Regions from separate parts of the Homo sapiens genome. Here regions 1 and 2 are each linked to region 3. Evidence: promoter capture Hi-C in 16 types of primary human blood cells and fetal thymus (Javierre and others, 2016). All regions are on one chromosome and are shown on one strand. The core of a region is centred on a gene start or on the middle of the fragment in contact, and the rest is flanking DNA. Distances in the headings are between cores, read along the strand shown. Region 1 overlaps NDC80 (NDC80 kinetochore complex component). Region 2 overlaps METTL4 (methyltransferase 4, N6-adenosine). Region 3 holds the start of YES1 (YES proto-oncogene 1, Src family tyrosine kinase).

The links. The method cuts DNA at HindIII sites, captures the fragments that hold promoters and counts their contacts. A CHiCAGO score of 5 or more calls a contact.
Region 1: a contact is called between a fragment that was not itself captured here and the fragment with the promoter of YES1 in region 3, in 1 of 17 cell types (naive CD8 T cells). The highest score is 5.2, in naive CD8 T cells.
Region 2: a contact is called between a fragment that was not itself captured here and the fragment with the promoter of YES1 in region 3, in 1 of 17 cell types (total CD4 T cells). The highest score is 5.4, in total CD4 T cells.

The regions. Positions count from the first base shown.
Region 1 is chr18:2,605,445-2,608,144 of GRCh38, forward strand. It overlaps NDC80 (NDC80 kinetochore complex component), which reads left to right. Exons shown (of 17, transcript NM_006101.3): 14 at 971-1,063. Among named protein-coding and RNA genes, the nearest start is that of NDC80, 35 kb to the left of the region's middle. The HindIII fragment of the contact is 1,586 bases long and covers 469-2,054 here.
Region 2 is chr18:2,552,632-2,555,331 of GRCh38, forward strand. It overlaps METTL4 (methyltransferase 4, N6-adenosine), which reads right to left. Exons shown (of 9, transcript NM_022840.5): 4 at 2,038-2,407; 5 at 64-133. Among named protein-coding and RNA genes, the nearest start is that of METTL4, 18 kb to the right of the region's middle. The HindIII fragment of the contact is 212 bases long and covers 1,323-1,534 here.
Region 3 is chr18:810,987-813,686 of GRCh38, forward strand. YES1 (YES proto-oncogene 1, Src family tyrosine kinase) reads right to left here and starts at 1,256. Exons shown (of 12, transcript NM_005433.4): 1 at 1,128-1,256. RefSeq lists silencers at 863-952, 1,023-1,082, 1,133-1,642 and enhancers at 1,374-1,916, 1,917-2,458. The HindIII fragment of the contact is 10,737 bases long and covers 1-2,700 here.

The DNA of each region.
Region 1 (2,700 bases), core at 12-2,511, 1.8 Mb after region 3:
CTTTTGACCAACCATGAGAATCAGTGGAAGTTCTGGTTACTTGAGTATCTGTTGTTGTTATTACAAGTGAATTTAAAACAACTCGTTTAACTTGTTAGTTACTGCAGATATAACATACCTTTAGAAAAAGTTCTTGGTGTTAGATCTGGTTTTGAGTTCTGGGCGTATGCTAGTTGTATATGTCACTACCCTGTGTTTTGTAGCAAATAATAATAGCTTCACTAAATTTGAACCCCTAAATTTTTTTTTAATTTCATATGTGTGTAGAATTATCCTTTAAAAAAAAGTCAGCTATTTATACATTTTACTCTTTTGTGTTTCCTGCAGGAAACAGTTTCCTCTTGGTATAGCTGAAGAACATTCTCTATTAATTGCTGACATCAACTGGTATCAGCACTTGCCAACAGGAAATGAACTTGAAAAACACTTTTTTCTTTCAGTTTTGGTTTCAACTGATCTTAAAGTTCAAGCTTTAACAAGATTAAATGTGGTTACCTTATTACTTTTTGAAGGAATGCATGACTATAATAGCAAACATCCAATAAAATTAATACAAACAATTCTTTTTTAACATTTTAGAAAATGAACATACAAATGAAAAGCTAAATAGCTGTAGTAGATATAGTCTAAATAAAGCTAGATTTCAAATCCAGAGGCAAAAATTATTTATATATGAATAAATTGATATAACAATATTAATAATATATAATATATATGAGAGCTTAAAAAGCACTCCCACAACAACTAGTGGAAAAACAGATATTAACATCGTTAACTTTGAGGTTTCTTTGAAATTAATTTCTCTTTGGAGAATAATAAAGTTTTTGGACAAATGATAAGTGAGAGTCCAAAAGGACTAGAAGAAATAACATTGTTCAGTTAGTTGATTGATAATATAAAAACTCTATAACTTGTTAAAATATCTTTGATGTATAGTTATGATTTCTCAACCAAAGTTTTATTTCCCCAGTTGAATGCAATGATAACAGAAAGCAAGAGAAGTGTGAGAACTCTGAAAGAAGAAGTTCAAAAGCTGGATGATCTTTACCAACAAAAAATTAAGGTAAGAACTTTGCCACAGTTTGCGTAGGTTATCAAAAGCTATGTCATGATTGCTTGATGAGTCACATATTCTGACATCAAAATCAAAATCTTTAAGCTATATATATCCTATAATTTGTATCTTGGGTTAGTTTTCTCTGCCAAAGTTTATCGTAAGGAGTCATTTTATTTTGTTCTTTAAAGGACATTTTTCTGGATTAGGGCTGTTTTACCATAGAAAAGGAACATTTACTTTTCCTTTATCTGGTATTTTATACTTGCATATGACTCAGTATCCTTGCAAAACTAAACAGAATCTCTCCTACCTTTTTGTAGAGATTTATTGTTATGTACTGCTAAAGCCTGAACCCCAATAAGGTCTTTTGAATATGTAGTTGCCCACCAAGAGTCATTGTAAACTGACTATCCTGGTCAAATTCCAAAGACTGTTTACGTGCAATCTAGAAGGTGGGTAAAATAAAAAGACTGATTCTTCAACATTCTACTGTCTGACCAGCATTTTACTTAAAGTATTCAGATGACTCTATTCATTACCACTTACACAATTCATGTGAAAATTTTAACTATGCCAATATTTTTTACTTATGTCAACAAAGTATTAGGAATTGAAAACTTTTCTCTTTGCCTGTGTTATATTTAGGACCTATTTGTTTTCTTAAACGGTGTGAAATGTTTAGAAAATATACCACATAATATGATCTAAATGTGAAATATAAGACATTGGTAATCATTTTTCTTTTTTCACACATCCTCCATGACAATGCTTGAGTTTACTCTCTGACGCACTTAAATGAAAGGTTTTATGATACTTAATCTTCACAAACCTTAGAAATGATTAATTTGGGCTACTTTGCCTGTGCATAGTTAATACATCTGTGAAATAAGGACCTAGATAAGGCTTCCTTGAAGCTCATGGGAAAAAATCTTAATTAAAATATTATAAAATTTCCTGTTGTTCAGACTGGAAAATACTGCTGAATGAATCCTATGCAAGCTTTTTGAAAAGGTCACATTTGGTAAATACTTCCAACTCACCAAAAAACTAAAAAACTTCACTACTGAATTCTAGTCAGTTGACCTTGGCGCCCTAAAAACTGAACCAATTTTATTTAGTTTCTGCATCTTTGAGAATAAAGTGACTTTTTAATTTTTTAAAGGAAAAAGTATTTTTTGTTCATAATATAAATACTCATTAGAAACAATAGAGACTCGAGAGAAATGTATAAAATGGGAACTGAAATGTACCTTATAATCCACCATAATCCCATCACTAGAAACAATGGTTAAAGTTTAGGGAGTGTCTTCCAGATATACAAACATATATTTTTTTAATGGTACCAAATTATACATAGTTTTTCATAATCTGTCTTTCTCAAGAAAAGATATCATGGATATCTTTTCATACAAATGTAGAGAGAGCAATCCTTCTATTGTGTTTTTATTTTACATATATACATAGTATATATATATATATATATATATATATATATATAACTTATTTAGCTAGCCCCTTATTAATTTTTTCCCTAAATTTTCAACTGACCAATAATGTTGCTGTGAATATCTTTGTATATCTTTATGTATTTTTCCATTCCTTCCCTTTGATAAATTTCTGAAGCATCGAATTAAAGTTTATAT
Region 2 (2,700 bases), core at 179-2,678, 1.7 Mb after region 3:
TAAACTATAATGTACAAAGGACTACAGTTTTTTTAGAAAGCAAATGCTTTCATTTCCACTTACCTATTACTTCTTTTAACTGATTTGTTCTGCCATGGTGGATCTATCACAATTACATCAAATGTTTTCCTATCTGAAAACAAAGATACAATTTCAGAAAATACCTTCTCTATGTGATCACTTTAAAAACTAAACATGTTCTTCAAAACTCAAGTGATTTCACTACGGACACGAATATAATGGAATGCACCAAAGGGATCTGTATATAGCATTTATTCAAACAGAGTAATTTATCATTAAATATTAGATGTTTCCTTTACCTCTAGAATTGTATCATAATGTTACCTATTGCAATTGTTGCAGAGACTATCTGCAGATGACTACAGCTCAGTAAGCTGAACACTAATGATCTGTGAATTCCCTATGCGTCTTGGCAGCCATATTAATATAGTTCTAAGAAATCTAGGTCTTTTTTTTACTTTTTATTTTAAAATAATTTCAGCCTTTACAACTGACTTATTGGCCATAATAAAACTTCCCCAATTATTTACTAATGTACTTTTTCTGACCCAGGATCAAAGCCAGGATCAAACATTGCATTTAGCTGCCATCCCTCCTAACTCTCCTCCAACCTGGAAAAGTTCCTCGGTCTTTCTTCGTCTTTCATGATTTTGAAACTTTTAAAGGCTACCAATTATTTTATAGGATGTCCCTCAATCTGGGTCTAGTATTTTCTCATGATTAAATTTAGATTACTTATTTTTTGCAAGAGGACCACCAAAGTAATGCCTGCCATGCCCTATCAGTGCAACATATCAGGAGATAAAGGATGTTAAAGAGTCTTTGGTTAAAGTGTTGTCTGCTGAGTTTCACCAGTTTTTCCCTTGTAATTAACAAGTATCTTGGGAGGAGATACTTTAAGACCATGAAAATATCCTGTCTCATCTTTTCATCCACTATTTTGACATCCAATTATTATGGTGTTTGTCAGATGGAAATTCTCTAGATCCATCATTCCATTCATTTATTAACTGGAATTTTACTGTAAGGAAGAGCTGTCCTTTCTCCCCCTTTTATAAACATAGGTATATTTTTGTAAATGTGTACAATCTCATAAGTAATCAAAAGAATGCAAATTAAAATAAAGAAGTGACACTTTTTAAGCTATTAGAGTAACAAAGATCAAAAAGAAGAGAAAAAATGTGCATGCATAGAATGGTTTTCTCATTAATTTGTTATCCTGTCATTTACTCTGAAGAATTTATGGCACTGCTACATGGATAACCACTCAAGTGTAAGATGGCTTGATAGCAATTAAAAGAAGCTTTTCATTAGTAAGTTGTGTTGTAGTTGCTCAGTAACTTAAAATTTTGCTATAAAATGTCCAAATAACAATAAACAGCACATTAAATTCAATCTGATCAATATACCTCAAAATGACCCTAAGCAGCAGGTATTATCATGTCCATTTTATAGATTGGAGACTGGGGCTCGGTTTTGTGAAATGAATACCCCAAAGACTCACAGTTAAATAAGCTTCAGAATCTAAAGTCAAATACAGGTCTGTGTGACTGCGGACTTCAATATTTAAATTTTTTAACTTTGTACGGAAATGTTTCAAGAAATTTTAGACAATGAGCTTGAACACTAGCCTAAATGGTATCCTTTATACAAGGCTAGGAATGATGTGGGAATTGATATTCATAACTGAAGTGTTTCTACTTTGCTATGAAAAAAAGTTAAAAAAAAAAGTGATTTGGTTAAACACAACTGCATACCGAATTCCTAAGTACAGAGAAGTAACTATATTTGTTCTCTTAGAAATTAGCTTTTGACTCTTTATTCACAATATTTATTTTTTTAAAAAAAGCAAAAGTCAGCACCTTAAAATTAAACCTAAGAGACAAATAACCCAAGGAAAAGTGTCTACCCTATCCTCATAAATGCTGACCCATCTTCAAATTTCAGACTAGCTCTTAACTTTTCAGCCCACGGAAAAATTATCTTTTTCTAATAACAAACACAATAATTACTTACAGTTTAGAAGTGGTTGCATACAAGAAATGTCAGATAAAAGAAAACTGCTTTTCGGTGGTAGCAGGTATTTCTGTCCCATTAAAGTAATCACTTTTGTAAAGCTAGAGTTGTTTTCAACAACTCGCAAAAATAAATCCTGTTCTGTAACAGATGTATCCTCTTCCACCAATTGTAATGTCTGATGTTCCATTTCATTCAGAGAAGGCAAATGCTTTGCCATTTCACATAATTCTGACAAACTGCAGGCGTCAAGTGGTAAAGTAATGGGCTTACTACCCTTGTCCTGTTTTTCAAAAAGTGGATAAAGAAAACCACTTTTGAGACCTTCCTGGATCAACTGTAAAGATCCATCCAAAATCAGCTCCCTGATCTGTAAGAGAATTTTAAGTACATTAAAAGAACGTTGACATTAAAAAAGAACATTGACTGTGCTTTGAATATCTGAGTTTATAAACTGAAATCAATATCCTTAACACTTACAGTAAAATAATTCTGTACTACAATGAAAAGAATGTGTGAGCACGCCTTTGAACTGCTGTTTCCCAACTGCAGAGTGAAACAACCCTCACAAATTCACTGACAACTAAATAACCAAATACATGTAAGAAAATATATCCTCAAACATGTATAAGGTAAATTTGATAATCTGAATGTTTCTAGAAG
Region 3 (2,700 bases), core at 6-2,505:
CTTAAATGCACAGTCACGTGTATACATTTAGTAATACTTTCCTTAGTGCGTAATTTAACTTTAGAAGTGTAACAGGATGGTTTAAATATTTAAAATTATCAAGGTATCTTTGGCACTGTAATCTTACAGTTATAATACATGAAGATACTATAATCATATCATGTGAAATCGACTGTGAAAACACACACCCGTGGAACGTATATACATAATAAATGGACATAAAATTGTGCTTCCACCAAAGACTTTCATTATTTCCTTTAGTAATTTATAATTATACAGTATGTTATTCCACGCCTGTATCAATTAATTATGCAGAAAATGATTCAACCAAATCCGAACTGTTAAGTCCTACTCATTACAAAACAAAAACTAAAGTCCCTACACCAGACTTGATTTTCAAAGAGCTTCTTAAAACAGCTCTGCCCCATGCCCAATAAAGTGAAAGCTGGAAGCAATTATCAAGAAGAAAAACACACTTTAAGACAATTTTCTTTAACACATGTGGACAGGGAACCGAACGCAACGGGAGGCGGAGTGGCATGATTCCGTAAAAGTGGACGCTGAATGGTAAATTTCCCAACCCCCAACCCAAAACAAAGGAAAACTTTAAACATGTTGCGGTTTTCAATCAAACCAAGTAAAGCCAGAAAGGCTCATCCACTCGCCCCACACACCCGCTCCTCTCCCCGCACAGCTGCTACCGGCGTCGGCCGATACACAGACCCCCAGCCTTTAGGACCCAAAGGGGCCGCTTCCCTCGCCCCTACTTCGGCCGTAGGGGCAAAAATAAACCTCTCCTCCCCGTCGCCGGGCGGTCCACACGACCCCAAAGACAAGGGGTGGGGAGTGTCCCCACGCCCCTGGAACCTCAGGTCGGACTTGGGCGGGACCCGGCAGGTCTGGACAGGGCAGAGACCGAGTCAGGGGCGAGCAGGTAGCGCGGGGAACGAGACAAGCCCGCCGGGCGATCCGGGGGAGGGGAGAAGTTTCTTCCCAACTTCCCGACTCGGGCCCGCGGGGGCGGGGAACCGCGGCGGCGGCGGCGGCGGCGGCTCCGGGCGCTGGGGCCTAGCCCTGTCCGGGCAGAGGTGGAACCCTCCGCCCGCGGGGCCCCACCGGGTCCTTACCTGTCCTCCGGCCGCGCTCTCATGAGTCGCTGCTACCGCAGCTCGAGGTGGCGGAGGGCGGAGGCGAGGCCCGCGGGCCCTCTCCCTCCTCCACCTCCTCGTCCCGGGGCGCCCGGCGGCAGCAACGACGGCAGAGCCGGCCCGGGACGCGTTACTTCAGGAGGAGGGAGTTCCCGGGCTCCCCACGCCTCGGCCTCACTCTCCACCTCCTCCGCCCCCCCCCCCCGGCCCCGCCCCCTGACTTCTAGCGGGGGCGGGGGCTGCGGGTACCTGCGCGCGCCGCCGTCCGCTCACCGGAACTCGGGCCACGCCGGCCCGGCTCCGGGGCCCCCAGCCTTCCGGCGCCTACGCCCCCGTCAGGTCCCCTCCGCGGGCTCCGGGCCGCTTTGCTGTGGTCAGGATAGGCGACCGGTCCGTGTCACTTCTCCCGACCCAACATGGCGGCGGGGTCCGGGGCGGATTCCCGGGGGCGGTGCAGGCCGAGGGGGCGTGAGGAGGAGGTGCTTCCCTGCCCGGAGAGCAGGCCCGCGGCGTCCCTTCCCACCCGCGAACCCACCGACGCTCGGCTGCCGCGGAGATTGAATGGAGCGCTCCGATTCTGCCCCTCTGCCTTTCTCTGTTCCTTGGCCCAGCTCTCAGTAGTGGCCAGGGCTTTGGGGCTTGCTTTTGTGGGGGAGGACGGGGTTGAGTTTTTTTGGTTGGCTGTTTGCTTCTCAGCGCTACGCTTCCGCACCCTTTGTCGTTGGTAGTAAAATCTCAAGCCCAACCGCGTGAGCCGGGGGCGTTACTCACACCCTCATCACCATCCTGATCGCCGTCCAAAAAACGTTCACGTCTTGCCTCCTTCCGAGGCAGGGATCCTGTCCCTGCCCCCAGGAGCTTCCTGTTGACTGTAGGTCGAACCAGCCTTGCCGGGAGGGGAACCGAAGCTGAGTTCTGTTTGGCGACTATCCCAGTCATGGTGGCTTTGGCTTATGTTGGGACAGCGTTTTTCTATATGATGCTGGCGGCAGCCCAGTGAGGGAAGTGCAACAAGTATGGTTCTCCTGCTTGTCAACTGTGGAAACAGCGACCCTGAAAGTGGAGGAGCCACAGCTGGAATCGTGTCCGTCTGAATACACGCACCTTTCCTATGAGCCTTGTAAAGCCAGTCGTTGAAGAAGGGGGAGGACCCGGAAGGATGGGGTGGGGGCGTAAAGATGAAGGTTAATCAAGGTCCTCATGGACTGAACCTTGAGGCCCTTCTGCTGCAGTCACTTTTGCCCTATCAGACTTTTAGAGTAACTTCCTCTCTTTATTTCCTCTTTGGTGGGGTTATCAGAATTATTTTGTGACTATTGGTTTCCTTTGCGGTTTTTAGTGAAATTCAGAATCATCTTCGACGGATAGGAAATAGTGCAATCATATGTGTCAGTATTCCGGTATTCTAGGAACTTAAGGAAATGCATATAAGGGTTTGAACATTTTTTTCTTCAGCTCACTAAATGAACGAAAGGTAGGCGTAGGCGTTAAAGAGACACATAATGTGGAACGATGCTGTATTTTCTTAGCTACTAAAACTTCATTTGTCATT